Linked DNA regions of Homo sapiens: regions 2, 3, 4, 5, 6 and 7 are each linked to region 1. The links are contacts of gene promoters, found by promoter capture Hi-C in blood cells and fetal thymus (Javierre and others, 2016). All regions are on one chromosome and are shown on one strand. Each heading gives the region's core, a stretch centred on a gene start or on the middle of the fragment in contact. The rest is flanking DNA. Distances are from core to core; before and after follow the strand shown. Region 1 holds the start of KRT78 (keratin 78). Region 2 overlaps KRT82 (keratin 82). Region 3 has its middle 11 kb from the start of KRT85. Region 4 overlaps KRT75 (keratin 75). Region 5 overlaps KRT84 (keratin 84). Region 6 has its middle 7.4 kb from the start of KRT6B. Region 7 has its middle 8.1 kb from the start of KRT6C.

Region 1 (2,700 bases), core at 1-2,500:
TTACAGGTGCCTGCCACCACGCCTGGCTAATTTTTTGTATTTTTAAGAGACGGGGTTTTACCGTGTTAGCCAGGATGGTCTCGATCTCCTGACTTCGTGATCCACCCGCCTAGGCCTCCCAAAGTGCTGGGATTACAAGCGTGAGCCACCGTTCCCAGCTTAGGAGTATTTTCTAAATGCACCTTGCTTTTTTTTTTGAGATGGAGTCTCACTCTGTTGCCCAGGCTGGAGTGCAGTGGTACGATCTTGGCTCACTGCTCAACCTCTGCCTCCTGGGTTCAAGCAATTCTCCTGCCTCAGCCTCATATGTAGCTGGGATTACAGGTGTGCACCATCACACCTGGCCAATTTTTGTATTTTTAGTAGAGATGGGGTTTCACCATGTTGGTCAGGCTGGTCTCAAACTCCTGACCTCCAGTGACCCACCCACCTCGGTCTTCCAAAGTGCTGGGATTACAGGCGTGAGCCACTGTGCCCGGCCCTAAATGCACATTTCATTTCAGAGCCTGGGTGGCTCTGATTTGTAACCTCAGGAAGCGGAGCCTGATGGCAGGTGGATGGGCCTGGCCCCAAGTGCTTGTGGAAGGAGCAGAGCCACAGGCTGGGTCAGAAACGTGCTGTCCCATGCGATCCTGGATGGAGATGCCTGATTTCAGTGGGTGGTGCCTCATGGATGATTGCTGGGTTGGGCAAGAGGAAGGACTTGGAAACCCTGTTTTTCTGTTTCATTTCCAAATCCTGGAGTGTCTTTTAGCCAACTATGGCAATAACACCTCCACTAACCTCCTCTCTTTGTGGCGCTGCAAGTGCCTTCCTTCTCCAACTCCTTGAGGCAGATTCTCCCTTGAGAATCCAGGGCACTCTGATGCTTCCTCTGAACCCCTTCTAGCGTTCTTTCCTCTTCAACCTCCTCTCGCTTCCCTGTCTCCTTCAGGAAGCCTTCCCTGAGGGCCTCAGTGACTTTGCTCCGGCCATCCCTCCCTGTCCCTCAGCACTGACATCCCAGTCTCCTGCCTGCTTCCTTGTCTTTGGGCATGCCTATTTCTCCAACAGCCTGGGAGCTCTGAGGGCAGGGTCTGGGTTTCCTTCTCCCTTGGCTCTGCACGTGCCGGACACTTATTCTCCAGGCACGTCAGAGTAAGTCAGCTGGAGCCAAGTGACAGACACAGTCAGGTCAAGAGTATCTTGCTCTCCAAGGCCCAGCCCAGGTACGGGAGTGGATAAAAGTCTCGTGCTGGGGCCCCAGGGCAGAAACTCACACACCTTGACAATCTGTCTGTCCGTCTGCAGCTGCGTGACTGTCTGTCTCTGCCATGTCTCTCTCCCCATGCCGGGCCCAGAGGGGCTTCAGCGCTCGCTCAGCCTGTTCTGCTCGCTCAAGGGGCCGCAGCAGGGGAGGCTTCAGCAGCAGGGGCGGCTTCAGCAGCAGGAGCCTTAATTCCTTTGGGGGGTGCCTGGAAGGCTCTCGTGGGAGTACCTGGGGGTCAGGGGGTAGGCTGGGGGTGCGGTTTGGGGAGTGGAGTGGTGGGCCTGGGCTCTCCCTGTGCCCTCCGGGGGGCATCCAAGAAGTGACCATCAACCAGAATCTGCTGACCCCACTGAAGATTGAGATCGATCCCCAGTTCCAGGTGGTGCGGACGCAGGAGACCCAGGAGATCAGAACCCTCAACAACCAGTTTGCTTCCTTCATTGACAAGGTGAGGGTCAACTCAGCCAAGCCCCTGTCTCTGTGCCTCCCTTGGAGGAGCTGCTCTTGATGGACTTGGAAATGGGAAGTTTGGCCTCCTTCTACCACTTTTCTAATAACTTCTGCAGCAAAGAAGTCCCTCCTGTGGACTAACTGGACTCTCTCTGGCTATGCTGAGGCCCTGTTGTTCCATGATTGGGGCTCAGGGACAGAGAACTGCCAGCCAGCGGGGGGAAGGCCCTGCCCCATTAGTCAGTCCAGTCATTTTGTTGTGTTCAGAGTGTCATGGAAGGTCATGAGGCTTCCCCTGCCCAGGTTGGGCAGGGGGACAGGGGAAAGGTGAGGCTGATGGGAGGGTCCCTCAGGCTTTACTTTCCAGAGGCTGTGCACAGGGAGTCCCACAGGAGCCTCAGGGATCCTCTGCTTTTGCTGCAGGTGCGGTTCCTGGAGCAGCAGAACAAGGTCCTGGAGACGAAGTGGCATCTGCTGCAGCAACAGGGGTTGAGTGGCAGCCAGCAGGGCCTGGAGCCTGTCTTTGAGGCCTGCCTGGATCAGCTCAGGAAGCAGCTGGAGCAGCTCCAGGGAGAACGAGGGGCTCTGGATGCTGAGTTGAAGGCCTGCCGGGACCAGGAGGAGGAGTATAAGTCCAAGTAGGCACACTGAAATTTCCCCATGCCATGTGGGCGGGGTCTGGGATGACTCAGTTTGGGTCTGTCAGCCAGGAGGTGTCCCACATACTGAGCACCCAGAGGCACATGACTGGCCTCCCCTCTACCCCTCCGCGTCCCCATTCCCCAGGCTCTCAGGTGCCCACCTGCTACAGGTAAACGAGGTGTCCCGCAGTCCCCAAGCAGATCTGGAGAACCTTGGAGGAAAGGCAGGGAGACCGGTGTCCTACATGCCCCAGCTACAAGGGCCCATGTTTCCGGTCAAGGCTGGGAAGGGCTTATTTAAACAATGCCCCAGTGGCTTTTTTTATTCTTGAGAAATTCCTGTTCAGCGGGCTGTGGGCT
Region 2 (2,700 bases), core at 188-2,687, 450 kb after region 1:
ATAAGATTCAAAGGGGAGATGGGGGGAGGGTGTGCCAGGCTGAGCAGCAGGTGCTAGGACACAGCAGCAGAAATTGAGGGGCCTGGAGTGCCATGTGCTGTGGAGATCGGGCTGGAGGGGTAGCTTGAGGCCAGGTCACAGCATCTGCAGGGCTGTGCTAAGTCATTTGGCTTTGTTCTGAAGGCAGTGGGTGCCACTGCCCAGGGAGTGCCCAAAGTGATGCTCTGCCCATTTTCTGGAGCTCCATGGTGGTTGGAAGTATGAAAACTTGAAATGGAGTCAGCTCCTGGTGAACCTGTCTGTGACCCACCCACGGCCAGGTTTCACTCTGGCTGGCCCTTCCTCTGGTTGCCCCTGGCAACAACCATCAGCCATGTTGGGTTCAGGATTACAACCACCTCATTTTCCCATCCTGCTAAGTCAGAATCTTAGAGAAAATTCTATTAGTTGAAGATTGCATTTGGCTACCAGGATCAGAAATTCTAAAAAAAAAAAAAAAAGTTAAAATTGAATTTTTACTTTTTTCTAAAGTAGCTTGAAGTACAAAATAGACTGCCCAGGATGACACAGAGATTCTGTGACATCATCAGGGACCCAGGATCCTTTGAGTTCACCATTCTGCCATCTGTAATACATGCTCCATCCTCTTGGTTGCCTCATGTTCCAAGAAAGCTGCAGCACCTCCAATCTCACATGCTTACGCCTGGCAGCAAGGAGAACAGAGGCAAAAAAAGCCAACTGGGTCATTCCCCCCTTTAAAGAGCTTACCCAGAAGCCCTACCCAGCCATGGTCATAGATCTCATTGATTGGAAGACTGAGAAATATTCTCTTATCTGGGCTCATTGTTACCCTAAATAAAAGCAGTGTTCTATTTGGTTCTGGGTTTTTTCTGTTGCTGTTATTTTTGTTTTTTGTTTGTTTGTTTATTTTGAGATGGAGTCTTGCTCTATTGCCCAGGCTAGAGTGCAGTGAGTGGTGCAATCTCGCCTCACTGCAACCTCTGCCTCCCAGGTTCAAGTGATCCTCCTGCCTCAGCCTCCCAAGTAGCTGGGATTATAAGCATGCACCACCATACTCAGCTAATTTGTGTATTTTTAGTAGTGATGGGGTTTCACCATGTTGGCCAGGCTGGTCTTGAACTCTTGACCTCAAATGATCTGCCCGCCTCAGCCTTCCAAAATGCTGGCATTACAGGTGTCAGTCACTGAGCCCAGCCAGGGGTTCTGTTTTAAGAAGAGGACAATGGATATTTACTAGGCAACTGCAGACTTTCCTACTGTAACCAAATAACAAAAGAGCCAATGAGTGTGATTATGTGCTTATCTCTCATTTTGCATTTTCTATATAATATGCTCCCACTCACTATCAGAAAATCTAAAGTCAGCTAATTTTTTAAAACTTACAAATGTAATCTGTACACACTACTATTCAGAAATTGGATTCAGAGTGCAAAGGTTTTTATAAAAAAGTGTTACCTCAAGGTAGGACATAAATTGCATTTTGTTTTTTTTATTGTTTTTGTGGAAAACATACAAATGTTCTCATCCTGATGGGCAGACCCATCCTAATGGGCAGTCCTTGGTCTGTTAGGCAACCCAGGCTGAGCACAGAAACCCCTTCCAAGTTCCAGAGGCATATCTAAAAGGGAGGGAGCCCTCAGGTGAACTTGGGCTCTGGGACAGAGAAAAGGACCAGACACAGAACAGCTCAACAGAGGAGGGGATCTCAGAGGCTGGAGAAAAATCTAACAAGCCTGGAGCTGGGGATGGGGTGAGATGGGAATCAGGAACAGCCCACATAAAGGACCCAAAATTGCCCAGAAGCGGAAGAAGGTAAAGGAGCAGAACCAGTATGAGAACCAGAGAACACCTGAACTAGGAAGTCACGGGAGAAAAGACTGGGAACAGTGAGAAAAGAGGCTAGGAGATGCCATCTTGTGGGGCCTGGGGCTCTGACCTCTCTGTCCTGGCAGTATGAGGAGCTGAGAGTCACAGCTGGGAACCACTGTGACAACCTCCGCAACCGTAAGAACGAGATCCTGGAAATGAATAAACTGATCCAGCGGCTGCAGCAAGAAACCGAGAATGTCAAAGCCCAGGTGAGGCTGGGGAGGACTTCCTTGCTGCAACAGCCATCCTGGGCTGACTGGCCAGTCTGTGCCGTGCAGGGCGGGTTCAATCCTTGCTGTGAGTGCCATTGAAGAGGGAATAAACTTGTGCTGCCTTGCTCAAGCAGAAGCAAGCCCTTTCTACCAAAGGGCTGACCCACAGCAGGATGAGCAGCCACAGGAAATAGTCAGGTCCCCAACAGAAACGAGGTGACCAATGTCAAAGATGAGAAGCAAGGATGCTTCACTAGGTGCAAGTATAGAAAAGATGCACTCCACGGTCCCTTCAGACCCAAAGACTGTGATTCTATGATCCTGAAATTCAAGGTGACTCTCAGTTGTTCATAAAATCAGACCCACTCCATTCTCCTGGGCTAGGGAAGACCAGCTGGGCATTTAAAACATATTAACCCCACAGAAATTTCTCAGCATACTTAAGAGGAAAATCCCCGCTCTCTTGGAGGTATTTTAGACAGAAAACCCATCCCAGTTCCCTGGAGGAACCAGATGTCGCAATCCTAGGATGAAGCTCGCAAATGTGAGCCTGGCACGTAGCCACCCCCGTGTTCTCTCTGCTCTTCTGCGAGTCTGG
Region 3 (2,875 bases), core at 318-2,817, 490 kb after region 1:
TCTGTGTAGACACGGACATGACCATGTGGGACTTAATGTCCCCTTGTCTGGGTTATTCACACTCCTGTCTCTCTCTGGGAACATGAGCATTAGGAAGTGACTGTACTAAGTGTTTTGCTCATTGAGGATCAGAGCAACAACGACATGGGCACTAAGCGCCACACTCCTTGGGTGTAGGGACATGCCAGGCAGAACAAGCAATGGGAGAGGCTTATTTCACAGAGCCTCAGGCCACCTTCCTGCCTCCCCCAACCCCCAACCCCCAACCTGTGCATGCCTGGAAATCCCTGCTCATTTCCGCTTTGTTCAAAAACCGAGGGCTCCCCCATGTTGGCAGGGGAGCAGCCAGGGAGTGGGGTGAGGCGGGGACAGCATGATAAGCTTACGCATTAAAAATGAAGAAAATACCCAAGGCATTCATAGACAAATAGCCACCCTCCACCACCATCAAAAGGAAACACAGACCCTTCCCCAGTCCACAGTCCCATGCCCCAGGGCAGCCAATGCCCCCTGAGACACCGTTTCCTCCTCAGAGTCACTCTGGTGACCCTTTTAACCTGGCTTTACTGCTGCTCAAACTTGGTGGGATCCGGACTGTGATGGGCAGGCCCCTGCAAGACCCTTTGGTCCGGGAGACAGAGACAAGGGAAGCACCACCCTACTAAGATAGACCTCTGTCCGCCCAGGTCAAGTCACTGCCTGGCCATTGTGGTCACTGAAACAGAGTCTGAAGACATCAGAAGAACTGCGTGGCCGAGGAGAACCATTCAAAGGCTCTTCTCTGTTATGTCGCCCGTGCAGTGCTGGCCCTCTGGATGCGAGAGACTCGGGATGGGAAGGCGAGTCACCGTCCAGGCCAGCAGGACTTCCTCAGCCTCGGTGGTCCGCAGGCCACCTGGGTGGGGACAGTTTACAGTGTAACAAGGGGCCTGCAGGTCCTCCCTGCAGGTCCCCACTTTGGCCCCGTCTCCCGTTGAGGCCACCGTTGTCCCCCATCTCCCCACCCACGAGAGTCAGGGGCCACACCCCTCCTACCCCCACCCTCGCTTTGCTCACGGGTCGCCCCGTGCCCTGCCCTGCCTGCCTGCCCACCGTCACGTCCAGCCACCGGGTATCCTGGGCCCATCTCCAGATGCACGGCGCGGGCCCTGCTGGAGCCCGCGGGATCAGATCCACAGGGGCCTTGGGTCCTTGGCTCACGCAAGGTTCGCGCCTCGGCGCCTCTGGACTGGTTCCTGAGTCTTCTGCCGTCCGCCGGGATCCCGCCGCCTGCGCCTCTCTCAAACGCGCCCGCCCTCCACGCCTGGGCCCCGGCTGCCCTCCTTCACCCCTGCCCGAGACGCCCCGCGTCCCGCCCTTAGCCTCTAACCCCAGTGGTGAGGGGCCTAGGGGCTGGGCGCCGGGAGGGACGGGAGGGCGAGCTGGGCGCCACCTGCCCGCCGTTTTGGGGTAGTGGGCAGGGTGTTTGGGGGTTATTGGCTGCTCAGGGCTGCCCCGTGACATGCCCATAGCACCGTGGCCGGGGTCGGCGCCCTCCTCTCCGAAGTCTAGGTGCCTAGTGCGTCCTGGCACAGAGGTTTTATAAAGACCCTCGGGGGTCGCCCGTCTGCAGTGAATGGGATGTGGGGAGCGAACCCGCAGGTAGTCAAAAGGCCAGGCCCTGCTCCCCCAGACTCCACCCCTAGGCCGGGGTGCCAAGCCATTGCCTTGGCAGGTCCGGAGCTGGTACCAGAAGGTTTGGCAATGTGCGTGAGCACCATGGAAAAGAAAAGAAAAAAAAAACCTTTTAAAGACTTTTCTATGTCATGAGATCAGATATGCATTCTTGTGGCAAAATGTTTCCTACCCAGTCAGGCTTAAAAAAAAAAAAGTTCCAAATAAAATAAGGTGGGAGAAATAGTTCTTCCTGTACAACAAGTGAAAGAAAGTTGACCTTCAGAAACCCCTGTCTCCATTCATCACATACAGGTGAGACAGCCCTAGGTAGGACTTCTAGGGAACTGTCAGTTCAAGAGTAGGCCAGACATACAGTTCACCAATCAATTGCCTCTGACCAGGTTATCAGGGCAAATGCCTTCCAACCACGTGTCTGAGCTTTGATCTTGGGTTCCCATATAAAAGGCTTGTATTAACCGCCCCGTGGTACGATCTGTCCGAGATTCTTGGAGAACAGAACCTACGGGGAGATGTTTCTACAAATGCTTCTAGGAGGTCCCATGTGTCACCTTCCATCTCATCTCCAAAGTGTCAGACAGCTGGTGAAGGAGCATCAGGCAGAACTCCTCCGGAAGCATCTGATGAGCCGGAATGTTTAGCCTGAGGAGCAATTAGGGAAATGCTGTGGAAACATTTATGAACAGCAGCATTCCCTAGACATGAGTTTGAATTCTGGACTAGCTGGGTAACTTAGTAAAGCTACTTCTTTGAGCCTTAATTTATTTATACGTAAAATGAGGATAATATTCTGGTTGCTGTGAGAAATTAATGAAATACATATATAATGTGCCAGACACCTAGCAGGTGTTTAACAAATACAGGCTCCCTTCCTCACCCCTTTTGTACCTTTGCCCCCACCTTGCCCTGGTGTGTGTGTGGCCCAGACCATGGCTCTGACCTTTTAGCCGCAGACAAAGGAGAAATGCAAAGGGGCTAGACCGATCCAGTGAGAATCAGAGGGACAGTCACTTCCATGGCCAGAATTATCCGACCCTCCTCTTCCCTCTACCCACATCAACCTGTGGTTCTCAAGCTTTAGTTCTTCTAGGAATCACCTGGAAGCTTCTTAAAATACAGATTCCTGGGCTCATCCCTAGAACTTTTGATTGAGAGTTCCAGATGGAGCCCAGGATCTGCACATTTAGCAACTACCCCACAG
Region 4 (2,700 bases), core at 70-2,569, 420 kb after region 1:
TTTTGAAGGACACAATTCATCCTATAACGGAGTCTATTTTTTTAAAATTTGATTTTCCTTCGGCAGGACCCAAAGTAGGGTGCTAGAATGTGTAAGGGGATGAGTTATAAATTAGGAGAAGAATAGGTTGGGAGGAGAACGGGGGCAGAGTTCACTGGCCAACAGGTTAATCTGTCACTTGATCCATCAAGAATATTCCAGCCTCCACCCTGGGATTCTGAGTGTGGGGCTGGGAGACGCTGAGGGAAGAGGAGTGTGCCCCTCCCCCCATAAGCATCCAGAAGGAAGAGAAACTCTGGAGTCAGGCTCAGACAGGGAGACAGACCCAGACGGCACAGCAGGAGGATCAAAGGGAAAGCAGGTGGACTGGAGCTGCTTCCAGGAGGAGAGGGCTCCAGTAGGTTCTGGAAGGGGAGGAGGAAGCCATTCCAGCCTAAGAGGCTGCCTGGAGCTGCAGCTCAGGAACACAGGCAGTGATCTCACTAAGCAGGGGACATTGGAAGGAGGCAAACTGCTGGCTGACGAGACCACCCCCTCCCCACCCAAGGACTCCAGGGCACAGGCCCTCACACTCCCAGCTGTCTTCTCGCTTGCACTTGATCTGACCACACCTCCTCTCTTCCCGGCAGCTGTGGTCACCTCTACTCTTTCCAGTGGCTATGGAAGCGGCAGCAGCATTGGAGGTGGAAACCTGGGCCTCGGTGGGGGCAGCGGCTACTCCTTCACCACCAGTGGTGGGCATAGCCTGGGTGCAGGCCTGGGAGGTTCTGGATTCAGTGCCACCAGCAACCGGGGCTTAGGGGGCAGTGGTTCTAGCGTCAAGTTTGTCTCCACCACATCCTCCAGCCAGAAGAGCTACACGCACTAAGAGAGCCCCATGGCTCCCTCTACCCTGCCTTGAGGCCTGTTTGCAGTCACACCTGGACACCAGGGTCCTCCTCCTTCCTCTCTCCTTGTAAGGTGCACCTGTGCTGCTGGGAGCCTGGAGTACTGGCTATACCCATTCCCAGGCCTAAGCCAGCCTCTCCCTCCTGACAGTGCCCAGACTGCCAGCAGCACCCGTCTGTTACACATGTGAAACCAAAGCCTGCTCTCTCCTAAGGCTCTCATTCAGCCTATCTTGCGAGGCCCGGGCAGCTGGAAAGTCCTCCTCCAGCTCCACCTCCCTCCCTCCCTCCAGATGCAGAGGCTGGGGAGTCTCTCAATGCCAGGTTGTCACCCACCTGTCTCATAGTGTTTATAAGTGGCCTGCTGGGAGTGAGTGCTCCCTCTGTTCCCTCCCTGGAATGTGTCTATTAAATGCATGTGTCACCTGTTTGGTGTCTGGCCCTCTGTTTGGAATGGTGACTGACCCAAAGCAATTCTCCTCCTCTCCCAGGCCTGCTCCCAGCATGGGGATCACACAACCAGTGCTCAGAGGCATCAGCCCTTGCCCCTTCCCTCTGAGCTAAGAAAGCTGGCTGGGAGGAAGGGAGGGCGGGCTGCAGAGGTGCAGGGAGTGCAGGGCTGGCCAGACTTCCTTTTCCCTCTCCTTGGCATGCCTTGTTTGGGAAGCCGGAGCTGTTGGGAGAAGCCCAGACCGGCCTCCCTGCTCTGTTAGTGCCGTCCCCATTCCAAACCAGTGTTCCAGAATACTGACGCCGGGTGGGCGGCCCAGCAGAGGGGCTGATTTTTCCCTGACAGTTTCAAACTTGCAGACCCAGCAGAGAAATAACAGGCCACGAAGAGGAGTTAAAAGGCAGCCCTGGGAGCAACGCTTTCACCAAGGAGAGGAGCCATTTAGCCCATAATTGCAGGCAGCAGTGAGATATCCAGTAAGCTCCCACATTCCTGAGTTTACAGTCTCCTGGACCCCTCCCATCAGGCCTGAGCTGGGGCATAGCCCAGTGGGCTCACCCAGAGTGGGGCAGTCGATGTGGGCTTGGAGGGAGTGAGTTCAATGCTCAGGAACTGATGTGAGCTACTTGGGACAGGGTTCTAAAACACCCTTGTCCAGGGTGAAGGAGCAGGAAGTGAAGTCGGGGGAGAGGGAGGCCGTGAATCAGGAGGGAAGATGAGTGTAAAACCAGGGGCTAAAATTTGGAGTGGACGGGAGAGGGAGGACGGCAGGAAGGAGAGAAATGACACTGAGAACAATTGTGAAATCCCTGGTGTTGGGGTGAGGGCGAGTTCAGACCAAGAGAGGAGAGAAGTGGAGGGACAGGAATTTGCAGTGACATCCTCAGGCTTTCTCCACTGGCCAAGCTGGCTCTCATCTCTGAGCCTGATCTTCCCAACTGTGTGGGGTGCAATGATTCAGGGCATGGGACCAGGAGTCCGGGTTCTGACAATGGCCCCAGTGCTCACTAGCTATGTGACCTCAACAAAGGTGCCTAACTACACTGTGTCTCAATCGGCCTCCTTTGTCAAACAAGGATCTTAACGGCAACCCCTGTAGTGCTATTTCAGATTAAAGAAGATACATGGAAACCAGCTACCCATAGTGGCTGCTCAAAAGATATTCAAAATTGTCCTTATTTTTATCATCCACCCTCACAAAGTTATTATGAGAATTAAATGAAATCATGCTTGCGGCTGACCTGTCGTGTGGTGTGGCACAGACTGAATCTCCAATAAATGAATTTTTAGAAATCATAAGTGAACAGAATGGGAGGAGCATAATTTAGTGACTTTGGGTTCAGAGCCCAAGACCTGGGAATA
Region 5 (2,769 bases), core at 222-2,721, 470 kb after region 1:
GGGCGGCCTGGTGTGCGGGCCTGAGCCTTTGGTTGCCGGCTCCACCCTCTCCCGCGGCGGGGTCACCTTCTCAGGTAGCAGCAGCGTCTGTGCCACCAGTGGGGTCCTGGCTTCCTGTGGCCCCAGCCTGGGTGGAGCCCGGGTCGCCCCGGCCACTGGGGACCTGCTGAGCACTGGCACAAGGAGTGGCTCCATGCTCATCAGCGAGGCCTGTGTCCCCAGCGTCCCCTGCCCCCTGCCCACCCAGGGGGGCTTCAGCAGCTGCAGCGGCGGCCGCAGCTCCAGCGTCCGCTTTGTGTCCACCACCACCTCCTGCCGGACCAAGTACTGAGAGCCCAGCCCCAGACAGCTGCTGCCCAGAGAAGAACCAGCTCCACGGCTCCTGCTTCTGCCCCCAGGGTTCGTGGGCTCTGGGCTTGACGGTCTCCAGCTCCCCTTTCTGCCAGGAAGCCACCCCTTAGCACTCCCCCGATTATTCTGCCTGGCCCCATGTCCTCTTGGAGGATTTTTCTGCCATGTAGATGCTCCATTAGCAGTTCCAGCTAAGCTGGCTTCTCCCTGCCTCCCAATTTCTGTCCTTTGGATCACTCCTCTCCCTGTCAGCAACAGCCTGGAGAAATGCACATTCCGTGCAATAACAACAATCCACCCAGTGCCCTCACCACCCGTGGCTTTGGGTTAATTTGGAGAATGGAGTTGACCGTCCACACTGCAGGCATCCTTAACTCCACATCCTTCACTTCCTTCTTCTTCCTTTCTCTGGTAGGAGAAGGTTCTTTCCTTCTCTCCCTGATGAAGGGGATCCCAGTCCTTGGTGGCCCCAGGCTCCCTAAACCCCGAGATGGCTTTTCTCCCAGTGGCTTCTCTCCGGCTGTTTCTCTTCCTGGGTTGTTGGTGTAACTCCAGCATGCAAGTCCACGAGGTGGGGTGCAGGCGGACAGGCGGGCTTTGCAATGATCCCCGTACTCCTGCCCCTGCTCGTGGTGTGAGGCCCAGCCCTGTCCACTGCAGGGTTGTGTCTGCAAGCTCCAAGGAGGCCTGGGGGTTGGGTGGGGTGGGCTGCCTGTGTGCACTACTCTTTGTGTTCCTGGGTTTTCAATAAACTTGCCAAGCTCACCTCACAGGGACTCTGGCCTCTCCTTCTGGATCACACTGGGGTTGGAGGAGTTGCCTCCTAGACTCCACCAGATCACAGCCTGCCTAGCTGAGGTAGGGCAGAGACTGGTGTCCTGGGCACAGGGAAGGCACTGAGGAAAGAGGGCCCAGGCCATTCGCTGGAGGGACTGACAGTTCTGCAGGGCATAGGAGAGGTAGCAAAGGCTCCAAAAACAAGTGGCAGCCAGCCCACTGCCCACTTCCCCCCACCACTGGGAATAGCCTTGTGCTCAGAGGCACCCTCCCCTGACCAAAGTGAACCCTGCCATCTGTTGCTCCCCAGGTCTCACCCACCCTCAGTTCCCCCAGTTCATCAGTTCATTATAGGTCCTTCCTGGTCTTTCTGTTCCCACTCGTGTCTCCATCCAACTCATTCATCACGATGCTGCTAGAAAGGCCTTTCTCACATAAAAAACTGACTGTGGTTCCCCGCAGCTCATATCCTTCGGTAGCTCCCCGTTGCCTCCCAGAAATAGCCCAAGCTCCTTAACATGGCATACAAGCCCTGTGTGATCTGCCCGTAGACTTCCACCTCCAGCCATCCCCTCCACACAGCCCACTGCCCACCTCTCATCTTTTGTCTATTCATCCAACAAACATTTGAGAAGTGCCTACCACATACCAGGCATGATGCTGGGAAAATGGTAATTGACAAGATTCAATTCCGGCCCTCAAAGAGCTTACAGTCCTGTCTGATAGATGGACAAGTGCACATGTCTGATAGATGGACAAGTGCATAAGCACTTGACTCAATATGCTAAGTACTATATTAAAAGCAGAACTCATGCTGTACTACCCAGACAAGAGGCCCCGCCCAGACTTGGGGCAACATTAAATGCTTCCTGAAGGATATAATGTCCCAGCAGAGGTGTGAAGGATGATGAATTAGCCATACTAAGAAGGAAGAAGTGTCCCAAGCAGAGGCAACAACAGCATGTGCAAAAACCAAGACGTTGGAGAGAGCAGAAGTTTGAGGATTTGCCTGGAGTTGAAATTGGCCATGACTATAGCATAGAGTGCAAGACATAGCGTCAGGTGGGGACAGGAGTCAGCCAAGGCACAGTCACGAACAGCACAGCTCCATTGGGGCACATGTCTCATAGTAGGAATGGTTTGCTGGTCAGCCTCACTCCAAGACAGTTCTTCTGAGGGAGCAGGAAGCACATCTCTCATTTTTATATGTTCTGCATTGCCAAGACCCCAGCCAGCACCCTGAGGATGTAGAGGTTGCCCTGCTCACAGCCTCAGGCCCTGCATGATGGTGGGGTCACCAGCCACTGGCCCTCCTGCTTCCAGGAGCTCATGACTTCCCACCTCATCTTCTACGTGCAAAGTCACACACACCCCTTGGGGGCAATTTTAATATTTGACATTTTTTAAGTCATTGATGGGCCCATAACAAAAAGAAGTAGACAAAGGAGAGTCAATAACTTGAAGACAGATCAATAGAAATTATCCAATCTGAAGAATAAAGAGAACATAAGATTTTTTTAAAGTTTTTTTTAAGCTAGAGGAAAATAACACATTACATATAGGGGAATAATCGTTCAAATTATCATAGATTTCTCATCAGAAACCATGAAAGACAGACGATGGTGGCACATCACATTTAAA
Region 6 (2,957 bases), core at 168-2,667, 400 kb after region 1:
AGGGAAATATTGCACTGACCCTGCAGATCAGAAACACTTGGTAAGAAGCAGGTGCTTGCCCTGACTCTATGATTATTAAGACTTTTGCCACCAATGCTTGCTCTGATATAAACTTCTAAAATCCATCATTCAAACTAATAGATACAGTAAAGGAGCATCCTCAAATCTCAGTGTATGGATTTAAAGCCATGCAGTGCCATATGTTTTGGAATGGTTTTGACACAACTCAAAGATACATGGGCTGAACTTAAGAACTTATCCTGGGGCCGGACTTGGTGGCTCACACCTGTTAATCCCAGCACTTTGGGAGGTCGAGGCAGGTGGATCACTTAAGGCCAGGTGTTTGAGACCAGCCTGGTCAACAAGAAGAAACCCCGTCTTTACTAAAAATACAAAAATTAGCTGGGCATGGTGTTATGCACCTGTAATTCCAGCTACTCAGGAGGCTGAGGCACAAGAATCACTTGAGTCTGGGAGGTGGAGGTTGCAGTGAGCCAAGATAATGCCACTGCACTCCAGCCTGGGCAACAGAGCAAGAACTCCATCTAAAAAAAAAAAGAAAAAAAGAACTTATCTTGGGAAAGGCTGGTTAGAATGTTTATGACTGTACACCTAAAAACAGTGACTTTGACTGTCTGTACATTATACCTCAACAACCCTTAGAAAAAGTGAAGTTGTAAAAAAAGATAAAATAAATTCATAAAATTTCTTTATAAAATTAGAGAGTTTGTTTTGAGGTGCTGCTGGCAAAGATGACATGGTCCATGAGACAACATGGTCCACGCTGACAGACGACACTCAGATCAACATGGGGACTGAGCACAGCGGCTCATGACTGTAATCCCAACACTTTGGGAGGCCAAGGCAGGAATCACTTGAGCTTAGGAGTGTGACACCAGCCTGGGCAACATAGCCAGACCCTGTCTGTACAAAAAAACTAAAAAATTAGTTGGGCATGGTGGTGCACACCTGTAGTTTTAGCTACTTAGGAAGCCGAAGCAGGAGGATCACTTGAGCCAAGGTGTCTGAAGTGGCAGTGAGTTATGATTGCAACACTGCACTCCAGCCTGGATGATGAAGGTTAAGGGAGTTCCTCATTTGATGATAGGATGCAAAAACAAAACAAAACAAAACAAAAAACCATGCACATTTTAACTGTAAACTTTCATGATAATTTTGACAAGCAAAAATTGATGGTTGGACGTTCATTCAAATTGACCAGATATCAACATCAGGGTTGTAATTTTCACTTTTAGACGGAAACAGACTCTCTATCTTTTAGGCCATGTTTACACAAGCTTATTCTAGAAACTGGCTAATCAGGTCTTATCCGTGAGCAGAAGAATACAAAGTGAAAGAAAATTCCTGAAGAACAACAATAACTCTTTCAGTTATGGTCATATTTTGCCCATTTGATGCCACAGCAGAGACTCTTTCCCATGCGTCACTACTGTAGTTGAGGTCTGGCCTTCTTCCCATGGTTGTCTGTGGGTGAGCAAACGTCTTGCCACTGAGTAGGTCATTAGCAGAAGCTTTGGAGCGGGAGGAGACTTTGGGGAATTAGTGACCCCCTCCCTTTCTATCATTGCAGTCTAGAGTTTGAAGTCAAAGGCATGGTGGAAGCAGAGCGTAGGAACTGCCACGTTGTTCAAGTCCCAAAAGCTGTTAGGACAACTTCCCAGTGTGCCAGGCAAAGTCATTCTCCCCCCTCAGGTAAAAAGCTCGAGGACAGCAGGCTACTGGCAGGGTCCCTCACTACCCTCAAGTGAAATCCAGATGCTTACCCTCTCTGAGAGGCCAGCTAGATGCCAGCTGGCTTGAGACTTGGAGCAGGCATCCCAGTCTCCTGTGAATAGGGTTGTCCAGACAAAATAGAGGAAGCCCAGTTAAATTTGTTGTGTTTTTTTTTTAGACATAGTCTCATTCTGTCACCCAAGCTAGAGTAGAGTAGTGCAATCATGGCTCCCTGCTGACTGGACTTCGCAGGCTGAAGTGATCCTCTTGCCTCAGCCTCTTGAGTACCTGTGACCACAGGCATGCACCACCATGCCTAGATAATTTCTTCTTTTTTGTAATTTTTGTAGAGTTAGGGTCTCACTATTTGTCCAGGCTGGTTTCAAACTCCTGGGCTCAAGTGATCCTTCCACCTCAACCTCCCAAAGTGCTGGAATTATAGGCATGAACCACTGCACTGAAACCTCAGTTAAAGTTGAACTACAGATAAACAACAAAAATTCATACGTCCTAGTATCCGTGCCTTTCATGTGTTTCTACAGTTTCTCAGGATTCATCCTGTGGGAGGAAGATAACAGCCCCAGCTGGTTCGCCATCTTGCCAGGACAAAATACTAATAGTGATTAATTCTGAGGAGTATGAATTTGGGTAATTGCTATTTTCATTTTCATACTTTTCTGCTACATAAAGATCAACATCCTACTTTTTCCACCATTGAAATGCCATTTTTATTACATGCTGAATTCATACACTTTATCTTCTGTGTCATTGATCTCTTTGTCTGATCACACCACTGTGATTACTAGATCTTTATATTACATGCTGCTTTCTCTATTACTTTAGGGTCAGTCTCTGGTGCCTTATTTTGTCCATTTGGTGAGGTCTTTTCCATGAACATCCTCGATGCTCAAGGATGTGCAATGATGTCTGAACCTGCAGAGAGATTTTGGACTGTGGTTGGGTGCAGAATATCTTGTGGGGGGATATGAACAGGTTACCTTGTATTCTGCCATCTTGGTGACATTCACTCTGTTATTTACATGTTGGTTTCTTATACAGCAAGTCCTACTCATTGTTTGTCTTCAATGTTTTCTGGTTATTCTTGTGCATTTTGTTGTGTTGTTATTGTTGTTGTTGTTGTTAGGTATCCCTAGGCATCTCAGAGTTTTTGTGTTATGAGTTAGAACTCCTTTCTCCTTTCTCTCCATCACGTTTTCTAATTA
Region 7 (2,815 bases), core at 261-2,760, 380 kb after region 1:
CCTAAGCCCACTGACCATGCATACAGTTATATACTCATGAGGCATAATGAAAAGGAAAATAACTGACAAGGTAAATTATCTAGGATGTAGAAACATACCAAAAGGAGGTTAAAAACAATGTGCATGTATGTGTATCTATATAAAAAATAAAAATCTTATAGTATATGGACATTCAAAGTATAATAAAGGAAAACTACAAATGAACAAACTTGAAACTTCAATGAAATGCACCAAATCCTTGAAAGACACAGGTTACCAAAAAATACACACAGGGAGAAACAGATAATTGGAATAGTAACACACCTATTAAATAAATTGAATCAATAATTTATAGCCTCTCTAAAAGAAAGCACCAAGCCCAGATATTTTTATTGGTTAATTCTATTAACATTTAGAAATGAAATGATACCAATTGTCTACAATGTCTTCTGGGAAACAGATGCAGAGAGAACGCTTATAACTCATTCTATGGAGGTCGATATTACTCTAACACCGAAACCAGACAAAGACATTTTGAGAAAAGAAAACTATAGACCAATACCTCTTATAAACATAGATGCAAAATCGCTCAACCAAATATTACCAAATTTAATCCTACCAAGTACTTCAAAGTTATACACCATAACTAAGCAGGATTTATCCTATATATGCAAGGCTAGTGTAACATTCAAAAGCCATCAATAAAATCTACCATATCAGAAGACTAAAAAAGAAAAATCATATAATTATATCAGTTGATGCAGAAAAAGTTTATTATATAACCCAACACCAATTCATGTTTCAAAGAAAACAAGCTTGTCAGCAAACAAGAAATGGACGGCAACTTCCTCAACTTGGTAAAGAACATCTGAAAAATAAAAAATCCCATAGTTAACATCATACTTAACAGTGAGAGACTAGGCCGTTTTCACATAGTTCGAGAGCAAGGCAGATATGTCCCCTCTCTCCACTGTTACTCGCATTGTACTAGAAGTTTAACTGCAGCAGTAAGATGAGAATAAGCAATAAAAGTAATATATATTAGAAATAAAAAAACTCTCTTTATCCTCATATGACATTTAGTCAATGTAGAAAATTTCAAAGACTCTACCAAAACTTTCCTGGCAGCAACAAGCAGAGAGAGCAAAGTTGCCGGCACGAGGTTACTAGACAAAAGTAAGTACTTTCTTATATACCAGCAATGAGGAACTGAAATTTGAAATTAAAAATCAATACCATTCACAATAACACCAAAAGGATTAAATGCTTAGGCATAAATCTAACAAAATATAAAGAGACTCCATAGGTGGAAAACTACTAAATAATGATGAAATAAATCAAAGATGTAAATAAATGAAGAGATATTCCAGATTTGTAGATTGGCAGACTCAAAATTATTAAGCTGTCAATTTTCTCTAAATTGATACATAGATTCAACACAATTGCAATTAAAATCCCAGCAAGATATTGTTTAAATATCAATAAACTGGATAAAGTTGATATGAAAAGGCAAAGGATCTTTGCAAGGTGATAAGTGAAACAATTGCAGTGGTGAGGTCACATTATGCATTTGTCAAAATCCATAGAATTTTGGGGGGATTTTAAAAATTAATATTTTAAATTGACAAAAACAAAACTGCATAAATTTATGAGGTACAATATGATGTTTTTATATATGTACAAAATATGAAATGATTAAATCAAGCTACTTAATATATCTATCACCCTGCTTTATCATTTTCTGTGGTGAGACATTTGAAATTTACTTTCTTAGCTATTTTGAAATATGCAATATATTATTATTGATGATTGTCACCCTGCTGCACAGTAGATCTCAAAACTTATTCCTCTCATCTAACTGAAATTGTGCTCTTTGACCAGCATTTCCCATTCTGTCCCATCTCCACCCCCTCTCCCAGTCTCTGATAACCATCATTCTACTCTAAACTTCCATAAGTTCCTCTCTTCTACATAACACGAATAAGTGAGACTGTGCAGTATTTGTCTTCCTGTGTCTGGCTTATTTCACTTAGCATAATGTCTGCCAAGTTTATCTATATCGTCTTTATTTTTTAGAGCTGTTTTAGGTTCACAGTAAAATTGTCCAGAGGTACAAAAACTTACCATATACCCACTGCCCACACAAATTCATAGCCTCACTCACTATCAACAGCCCCCACCAGAGTGGTACATTTGTTACAATCAAATCTACATTGATGTGTCATTATTACCCAAAGTCCAAGCTTACAGTAAGGGTAACTCTTGCAGTTGTACATTCTATGGTTATGAAAAATGGATAACATGTATCTACCACTATAGTATCATACAGATTCATTTCACTGCCCTAAAAATCTTCTGTGCTCCACCTATTTATCTTTCCCAACTAAGCCTTGGCAGCCAATGATCTTTTTACTGTCTTCATAGTTTTTTCCCTTTTCCAGCATGTCATATAGTTGGCTACAGTATGTAGCCTTTTCAGGTTGGCTTCTTTCACCTAGTAATATGCATTTAAGTTTCCTCCATGTATTTTCATGGCTTGATAGCTCATTTCATTTTAGTGTTGAATAATATTTCATTGCCTTGATGGGCCACAGTTGACTTACCATTCAACTACGGAAAGATTTGTTGGTTGCTTCCTAGTTTGGGAAATCAGGAATAAAGCTGCTATAAATATCTGTGTGCAGGATTTTGGATGGACATAAGTTTTTAACTCATTTGGGTAAACACCAAGGCATGCAGTTGCTGAATTGTATGGTAAGAGTATGTTTAGTTTTGTAAGAAACTGCCAGACACTATTCCAAAGTAGCCATACCATTTTGCATTACAAAGAATGAGA

What was found. Contacts are between HindIII fragments. The CHiCAGO score rates a contact against its expected background, and 5 or more counts as called.
Region 2: a contact is called between a fragment that was not itself captured here and the fragment with the promoter of KRT78 in region 1, in 2 of 17 cell types (naive CD4 T cells and endothelial precursors). The highest score is 6.3, in naive CD4 T cells.
Region 3: a contact is called between a fragment that was not itself captured here and the fragment with the promoter of KRT78 in region 1, in 3 of 17 cell types (endothelial precursors, naive CD4 T cells and erythroblasts). The highest score is 5.9, in endothelial precursors.
Region 4: a fragment that was not itself captured here is called in contact with the fragment with the promoter of KRT78 in region 1 in 1 of 17 cell types (endothelial precursors); the score reaches 5.3 in endothelial precursors.
Region 5: a contact is called between a fragment that was not itself captured here and the fragment with the promoter of KRT78 in region 1, in 5 of 17 cell types (endothelial precursors, erythroblasts, megakaryocytes and 2 more). The highest score is 10.7, in endothelial precursors.
Region 6: a contact is called between a fragment that was not itself captured here and the fragment with the promoter of KRT78 in region 1, in 3 of 17 cell types (naive CD8 T cells, endothelial precursors and erythroblasts). The highest score is 6.4, in naive CD8 T cells.
Region 7: a fragment that was not itself captured here is called in contact with the fragment with the promoter of KRT78 in region 1 in 1 of 17 cell types (endothelial precursors); the score reaches 5.5 in endothelial precursors.

What each region holds. Positions count from the first base shown.
Region 1 is chr12:52,847,544-52,850,243 of GRCh38, reverse strand. It overlaps KRT78 (keratin 78), which reads left to right and starts at 1,250. Exons shown (of 9, transcript NM_173352.4): 1 at 1,250-1,697; 2 at 2,123-2,337. The coding sequence starts at 1,314. The HindIII fragment of the contact is 13,226 bases long and covers 1-2,700 here.
Region 2 is chr12:52,396,282-52,398,981 of GRCh38, reverse strand. KRT82 (keratin 82) reads left to right here. Exons shown (of 9, transcript NM_033033.4): 6 at 1,974-2,099. Among named protein-coding and RNA genes, the nearest start is that of KRT82, 8.7 kb to the left of the region's middle. RefSeq lists an enhancer at 2,488-2,657. The HindIII fragment of the contact is 4,156 bases long and covers 1-2,700 here.
Region 3 is chr12:52,354,815-52,357,689 of GRCh38, reverse strand. No RefSeq gene overlaps it. Among named protein-coding and RNA genes, the nearest start is that of KRT85, 11 kb to the left of the region's middle. The HindIII fragment of the contact is 2,368 bases long and covers 384-2,751 here.
Region 4 is chr12:52,422,685-52,425,384 of GRCh38, reverse strand. It overlaps KRT75 (keratin 75), which reads left to right. Exons shown (of 9, transcript NM_004693.3): 9 at 630-1,315. The coding sequence ends at 868. Among named protein-coding and RNA genes, the nearest start is that of KRT75, 10 kb to the left of the region's middle. The HindIII fragment of the contact is 7,485 bases long and covers 1-2,700 here.
Region 5 is chr12:52,375,596-52,378,364 of GRCh38, reverse strand. KRT84 (keratin 84) reads left to right here. Exons shown (of 9, transcript NM_033045.4): 9 at 1-553. The coding sequence ends at 331. Among named protein-coding and RNA genes, the nearest start is that of KRT84, 8.7 kb to the left of the region's middle. The HindIII fragment of the contact is 4,277 bases long and covers 1-2,769 here.
Region 6 is chr12:52,443,281-52,446,237 of GRCh38, reverse strand. No RefSeq gene overlaps it. Among named protein-coding and RNA genes, the nearest start is that of KRT6B, 7.4 kb to the left of the region's middle. RefSeq lists an enhancer at 2,927-2,957. The HindIII fragment of the contact is 234 bases long and covers 1,301-1,534 here.
Region 7 is chr12:52,464,307-52,467,121 of GRCh38, reverse strand. No RefSeq gene overlaps it. Among named protein-coding and RNA genes, the nearest start is that of KRT6C, 8.1 kb to the left of the region's middle. The HindIII fragment of the contact is 1,428 bases long and covers 797-2,224 here.